Linked DNA regions of Homo sapiens: region 2 is linked to region 1. The links are contacts of gene promoters, found by promoter capture Hi-C in blood cells and fetal thymus (Javierre and others, 2016). All regions are on one chromosome and are shown on one strand. The core of a region is centred on a gene start or on the middle of the fragment in contact, and the rest is flanking DNA. Distances in the headings are between cores, read along the strand shown.

Evidence for each region. The method cuts DNA at HindIII sites, captures the fragments that hold promoters and counts their contacts. A CHiCAGO score of 5 or more calls a contact.
Region 2: a contact is called between a fragment that was not itself captured here and the fragment with the promoter of PRM2 in region 1, in 1 of 17 cell types (activated CD4 T cells). The highest score is 5.4, in activated CD4 T cells.

The regions. Positions count from the first base shown.
Region 1 is chr16:11,274,526-11,278,282 of GRCh38, reverse strand. PRM2 (protamine 2) reads left to right here and starts at 1,803. Exons shown (of 2, transcript NM_002762.4): 1 at 1,803-2,183; 2 at 2,346-2,644. The coding sequence starts at 1,913. The coding sequence ends at 2,383. The region is part of intron 1 of LOC105371082 (a long non-coding RNA gene); the gene reads right to left. The HindIII fragment of the contact is 881 bases long and covers 1,506-2,386 here.
Region 2 is chr16:11,792,285-11,796,041 of GRCh38, reverse strand. All of the region lies in intron 1 of ZC3H7A (zinc finger CCCH-type containing 7A), which reads left to right. Among named protein-coding and RNA genes, the nearest start is that of ZC3H7A, 3.1 kb to the left of the region's middle. The HindIII fragment of the contact is 170 bases long and covers 1,750-1,919 here.

The DNA.
Region 1 (3,757 bases), core at 554-3,053:
TCCACCCGCCTCAGCCTCCCAAAGTGCTACGATTACAGGTGTGAGCCACCGAGCCCTGCCCCGCCCCTTCTTATTTTCATCTGCAAGCTTTGGCCATGGAGATTTGACTTAGCGGGACGTAGGGTAAGGCCTCAGCATTCATATTTTTAACACGCGCCCTCGAAGAGCTTGAGGGCCATCATAAAGGACCTTCTTATCCCTAAAGAGAGGCAGCATAGAAACACCAAGGGCATGGCAATATCACCCATCACCTCCTGTAAGGATCTGAAGATTAAGCCTCCTGAATTTGTTTCTTATTGCCACTGTGACAGATCATCACAAATTTTGTAGCTTTAAACAACATAAATGCATTATCTTACAGGTCTGCAGGTCAGAATTCTGAAAGAAGTCTCATGGGGCTAAAATCAAGGGGTCAGCAGGGCTGTGTTCCTCCTGGATGCACGAGGGGAGGATAACCCATTTCCTTGTCCATCCCAGCTTCTAGAGGCCGCCTGCATCCCTTGGCTTATAGCCTCTCCCTCCATCTTCAAAGCCAGCAGTGTGGTGTCTCCCAGTTTCTCTTCCTGTGACCCTCCTGCCTCCCTATTCTCTCTTCTAAGGACCCTCGTGACTGCACTGGGCCAACCCAGATCATCTGGGATGATCTCTGCATCTTCAAGTCCTTAAATTTGTGTATCTGCCACATTCCCACATTCTCCCTGCCCTCCATGAAAGGGAAACTGGTTTTGCAGTTTCTGTGATTCTGATCCCGGACTTTAATGGGATCATCAAAGTTCAATGAGAAGCCCCGGCAAGGCCGAGCGGGAGGGGAGAAGATGAATATTTTGGAGGCGGAGAGGGGAGCATTCCCTGGGCTAGGGAGGAGGTGGAGAGCCAAGGGTATGACTAAAACCAGGCTGTCTCCGTCTGAATGCTGGCCCGGCCTGGCCTTCTCAGCAGAGTGGCCTTGAGCAACTCAACTTCTTCATGCCTGTTTGCCCCACAGAAAATGAGGATTGTAAGAGTGAGGAATGCAAGGGTGGTGGCTCACACCTGTAATCCCAGCACTCTGGGAGGCCGACATGGGAGGCTCACTGAGGCCAGGAGTGTGAGACCAGCCAGGGCAACATGGTGAAACCCTATCTATCTCCACAAAAAATACAAAAAATTAGCTGGGAGTGGCAGCACACGCCTATAGTCCCAGCTACTCGGGAGGCTGAGGTGGCAGGATCATCTGAGCTGGAGGGGTAGAGGCTGCTATGATCCATGATTGCACAACTGCACTCCAGCCTGGGCGACAGACAGTGCCTCAAAACAAAAAGAGGAGAGAGAGAGAGAGAGAGAGAGAGAGAGAGAATGAGTGAATGTATGGGAAATAAATGAATCAATGCTTGGCACATAGGAGCTATTAGGGAACTGTTTGCTGCTGTTGCCATCTTAACAGTAAGCTGTGTGCACAGAGATCCAAGCACGGAAGTCCCTTCCACATGGTGGCTGTGGCACAGCAGTGAGTTGGCAAGGAAGCTTCCAAATGACAATGTGCGCACCCACCGGCTTGGGGAGATGAGGGCTTGGATTAGGCAATAAAACACCTGCCATCTGTATGGTTCACCTACTGCAAGAGACAGAGGACATGCTTTACAGGCAAGGCAAGGGGGTCTCTCGCCCTTCCAGCCCTGCAGCTTGGGTGCCAGGGCCCTGCTAGTTGTGACCCCTGGCCCTGTGCTGCCCTCACAGAGGAGGCTGGGCAGGGTGGGGACTGGGCGGGGCCGCAGAGTCATAGTGGGCGCCCCCTTTATATACAAGCTCCCGGGGAGCCTTGCAGACCAGACCAACAGTAACACCAAGGGCAGGTGGGCAGGCCTCCGCCCTCCTCCCCTACTCCAGGGCCCACTGCAGCCTCAGCCCAGGAGCCACCAGATCTCCCAACACCATGGTCCGATACCGCGTGAGGAGCCTGAGCGAACGCTCGCACGAGGTGTACAGGCAGCAGTTGCATGGGCAAGAGCAAGGACACCACGGCCAAGAGGAGCAAGGGCTGAGCCCGGAGCACGTCGAGGTCTACGAGAGGACCCATGGCCAGTCTCACTATAGGCGCAGACACTGCTCTCGAAGGAGGCTGCACCGGATCCACAGGCGGCAGCATCGCTCCTGCAGAAGGCGCAAAAGACGCTCCTGCAGGCACCGGAGGAGGCATCGCAGAGGTCTGCCTGCGCCCCCGCCTTGCCCTGCATGTCCCTGACCACCCCAGGCACAGGAGGGAGGCGGGGACCCACCCCACCTGACAAAAGCTCCAGCCCCCTAACCCCCGTCCCCACCCAGAGTCCCTAGGTGACCCCCTCAACCAGAACTTTCTTTCCCAAAAGGCTGCAGAACCAGGAAGAGAACATGCAGAAGGCACTAAGCTTCCTGGGCCCCTCACCCCCAGCTGGAAATTAAGAAAAAGTCGCCCGAAACACCAAGTGAGGCCATAGCAATTCCCCTACATCAAATGCTCAAGCCCCCAGCTGGAAGTTAAGAGAAAGTCACCTGCCCAAGAAACACCGAGTGAGGCCATAGCAACTCCCCTACATCAAATGCTCAAGCCCTGAGTTGCCGCCGAGAAGCCCACAAGATCTGAGTGAAACGAGCAAAAGTCACCTGCCCAATAAAGCTTGACAAGACACTCGCTGGCCTGTCGGGTTTTCTTTGCACGAATCACACAAACCTGGCTTCCCTCACGCCCAGGGCGGGTAGAGGCTTCTCTGCAGCCCTTCCTCAGAGGCAGGTAGGGCGGGAGTTCTGATGCTCTCAGGACACCTAGGAGAGGGTTACTGTGCCTGGGAGGCCACCCTATGATGCTGTCCTGTCTATTGTGCATCCTTCCATGGTGTCAAAGGCCACATTAGTCTGTCTGGATCCCCCTCCAGTGAAGAACCTGATCCTACCTCATGAAAGGAGAAAATGGTTAGAACAGATCGAGTCCTAATTAAGTCACAAAGATGCCAAGGCACCTTGTGGCCATATTTAAATGCCTACTGTGTGCCACAGTTTAAAAACACAACCCATCTTGAGTGTTGGGTGGTTGGAAGTGTAAACGGTGGGGGCAGAGGTGGGGGCACTGCTCAGTGCAGGCCACAGCTTCGAGGTGGGAAACAGGTCTGGCATGCTCCAGCAACAACTTGGTCAGCACAGAGACGGCAAAAGGCAAGGAGTAGATGAATGCAGAGTAATGGGCTGCGCTGTGTGAGGCCTGTGCTGGCTGAAGCCTCTGGAGACCCAGGCAGAATCCGATCCTTGTTGCCTGCTCTCCTCGGCCTGTGGCTGCATCACTCCTCCCTCCTGTCTGAAATCAAGGACCCTTGTGATTGCACTGAGGGACTTTCTGGACAACCCAAGATAACCTCCCCATCTCACAATCCTTACATCATAGATTCCAGGATCAGGAAGGGGGCACTTCGGAGAGTGCCAACCTTAGCCAACCATAGCCACTGAGGACTGGGGGGATAAGACTGGCAAGATCCAATCCATATGTTGGCAAATGGATTTCTGGTGCTCAGAAATGACCAATCTTTAGGAAGCAACGAGTTTCTGAAAACAAAACAACAACAACAAAAAAAAAAACAGACGGAGTTTCGCTCTTGTCACTGGGGCGGTGTGCAGTGGTGCGATCTTGGCTCACTGCAACCTGCACCTCCTATGTTCAACTGATTCTCCTCCCTAACCTCCTGAGTAGCTGAAGGAGCTAAACAAATTTTTTTTTTTTTTTTTTTTTGGTATTTTTAGTAAAGACATGGTT
Region 2 (3,757 bases), core at 585-3,084, 520 kb before region 1:
CAGCAACATAGTGAGACCCCTGTCTCTACAAAAAATACAAAAAATTAACTGGGCGTGGTGGCGCACGCCGGTAGTCAGCTACTCGGGAAGCTGAGGTGGGAGAATCTGCTACTCGGAAGGCTGGGGTGGGAGAATCCCTTGAGCCCAGGAGATTGAGGCTTCGGTGAGCTGAGATTGTGCCTTTGTGCTCCAGCCTGGGACACTGTCTCAAAACAAACAAATAAAAAAACAAAAGTTAATCTCACTGCTTTTCTTTTTCTCTTTTTTTAGTGTGGCTATTTGGAAATTTAAAATGACATATACGGGCCGGGCGGGGTGGCTCAACGTCTGTAATCCCAGCACTTTGGGAGGCCGAGGTGTGTGGATCACCTGAGGTCAGGAATTCCGAGACCAGCCTGGCCAACATGGAGAAACCCCGTCTCTAGTAAAAATACAAAAATCAGCCAGGCGTGGTGGCAGGCGCCTGTAATCCCAGCTACTGGGGAGGCTGAGGCAGGAGAATCGTTTGAACCGGGAGGCAGAGGTTGCAGTGAGCCGAGATTGTGCCACTGCACTCCTCCCTGGGCAACAGAGCGAGACTCCCTCTCCACATACATGCGTACATACATACATACATACAATGACACGTATGGCTTATTTTGTGTAATATATTTTGTACAATATTTCGACTGGACAGCGCGCAGCTGGGGCATCTGAATGGGTGGTGGCCCTGAGAAGACATGTCTATCTGCTTATCTTTCCTGCTTCTCTGATGGCATGTGGCCTCCTTCCCTTAAGCTCTCAAAGAATCCACTGCCTCTTCCTTCTCATACTGAGCCAAACTGTTGAACTGAATTGCACAATGGGTCTTGTCCTAATTTGCAGAATAATTCAAGTTAATGGACAGTATTTTCCCTGTTGAAAAATTTTCCCTATCTGCTGTATGCTGGAGGCTACAAATAGTTGTATGAGGTTTGTCTCAGGATGAGATCATGAGTTGTTGAGGCTCAATATTATCAATATTTGTGCGTGTGTGTTTGTGTGTGTGTGTTTATTCTACAAAGAGCCCGTTGATTTTCTGCCATCCAAACGAAGTGGAGAATTCCTGCCTTTCTTCATGTTACTGTGACTTTTCGTTGGGGGTTTTACACAGACCTACACCCTCTTTCCTTCCCATTCCCCAGATTCTGTCAGTTTTTGCAAATAAGAATGGTGGCTTGTCAGCCACATTGTTCCACAATTCTTAGTTTTGACTGATTTTAAAACCTGCCAGTTGGGGTGGGTTAAATTGTCATTGTAAGTGGAAGAGAATCAATTATAGAAACTCTCAACTCCAGGGATGGTGAGAGTGACTGTTGGAAAGTTTTGAGCATTTCAGTAAAGGAAGAAAGAAACAAAAGACGTCTGTATCCTGTTGCCACAGATACCCTAGAAAGGGCTTTCTAGAGACAGTATGATGTGAGCAAACTTTTGTCTTCTGGATAACGTCTGGAAGTGTTCTGTTTTGTTTTGTTTTTTTTCTAGTGAAAATATTTTTCTCCAGAATCCTTATGAAAATTACTTAAAGTGTGAGGTGTTGGCAAATCAAGAAGAAATTTTAGATAATTTTTAAGGAGGAGAGAAGTATTAAAGTATTAATCCAGAAGTTTAAAAATTACTGCTAGTGATAACGTTTTAATTTACATGTACACAAAAGGCATATTAAATGAGGTGATTTTCGTTTATGTAAAGCAACGAGGTTACTTTTTCACAAATAGAAAGCGGGAAGCTTTATGTTTTCTGAAAAGGCCTGAATTTGGAGCAGGACATTAATCTGGCACATTTGGTAAGAAGGTGAGAGTGTGTTGGGGTTACTTGGTTGGGAAGACTTCATCGGCTGGCGGTCTTGGGTACATCGTGGTGGTATCAGTGTCCCCAGGCAAATCATTTGTCATGAAGCTTTTACATGAAATATTCCTGTTGAGTTCTTCCATACAGAGGTCATAGATAAGATGAGATGTTCCTGGGAACCACCACTTAGCAGGGCGTGGGTGCCGAGGGAGGCTCTTGGCAGGCGGAGCCTCTTCGCAGAGGGAGGCTCTTCAGGCTCTTCACAGACTTTGTATCTTACTGAATCTGAAATCTGACAGCAATTTCAAAGTGAATAGTTCCTGTGGGGGGAAGAACTCCAGCCAAAATGTAACATTACCTTCCTGCTGTTGTTTGGCATACTGTCTCTCATGAAATTTTCCTTTTCAGTAAAAGGGAGAAACTGTTTCATAAAGTATCCAATAGGAGCTTCAACAACTTTAATGTCTTATCATCTGGGTTTGCAGCCTTCTGAGGCTTGCCTTGTGCCCCAGGTGCTTTTGTAAGTGTTGCAAGAGCCAGTTAATATACTGTTGCCAATTAAGGATGACAATAATGATACTTTAACTACTTTGTAGTTGTTGTTTTAAAGCTATTAATATTACACAGGCTTCAGTCTGGGGATAGAATTGAATATGGAGTGGAATGTATCATTTTTCCTCCCCCCCACCCCCTTTTTTTTGAGACAGGATCTTGCTCTGACACCCAGGTTGGAGTATAGTGGCATAGTCATAGTTTGCTGTGACCTCAAACTCCTGGCCTCAAGCAATCCTTCTGCCTCAGTCTCCCGAGTAGCTGGCACTACAGTGTACACCACCATGCCCATTTAATTTTTTAAACATTTTTATAGAGATGGGGTCTCCTATGTTGCCTAGGCTGGTCTCAAACTCCTGGCCTGAAGCGATCCTCCCACCTCAGCCTCCTAAAATGTTGGGATTACAGGCATGAGCCACTGCACCCAGCCTGTAATTTTTCACTTGAAATGTAGGGATACCTTTTTAGGCAAAAGTACAAATGCTGTGCTAGGTGACCTCTGCACTGCCTTCACTGGGAGACTTTGGTCCTGTGTTAGTACATCTTGTAAGTAAGGCTGTTTTAATATTATTTGTATTTAAATACATTATGTTCTGGGTGGAGCAGATCCCCTTGAAAGATTTTCCCTGGAGTGATGTCCAGACTCCTGGCCTACTGCATTCCTGTGAAAGCCCTCTGCTTTGTCTGAGTTGCATTAAATGACGTCTGTTGAGCATATCTTTTTGTGTACACAAGTGCACACGCATGCGTGTGTTTCTTTCATTTCTCCTGAATGGCTTTAAAGTGCCCACCTGTTCATCAGAGCCATATTTGTCTTTCAGAGCCCAGCCCAGGGCCACCCTAGACAGATGCTCACTCCCCTCCAGGCGTCTTTGGCACGTAATGTGCAGAAGAGCCAGGTGGATAGGCTCTCAGGCTTGGAGCCAGGCTGTCTGCCTTTGAAATTGAGCTCTGCTACTTCCTAGGTGTAATCCTGGGCCAGCTGCGTCACTTATCTGTATTTCAGTTTCTTTATAGTACCTGTCACTTAAGGTTAGCAGGAGGATTAAATGACTTAATACGTATAAAGCATGTAGAACAGTGCCTGGAGTCCAGTAAGAGCTACTATTTCTGTCTCAGTATGTTGCAGTCACATTTCCCTTACCTTGATGTCTTCTGTTAATGTGAGCTAGTTTCTAAAGTTACCATGTAAGGTCAAAAGCTCATGGATGTGGATTTATTTGTCTAGTTACCAACATTGTACTAGACTTTGGGATAATGAGTTTAACCTACCAGGCACTGAGTAAATAGTAAGGGAGTTCTGAAGATCCAGGATACCTTGAGATCTTACATAACTTCAAGATTAGTAACAAATTTTAAATCAGCTGATCCCAGAGAGATGATATTCCAGTTTGTA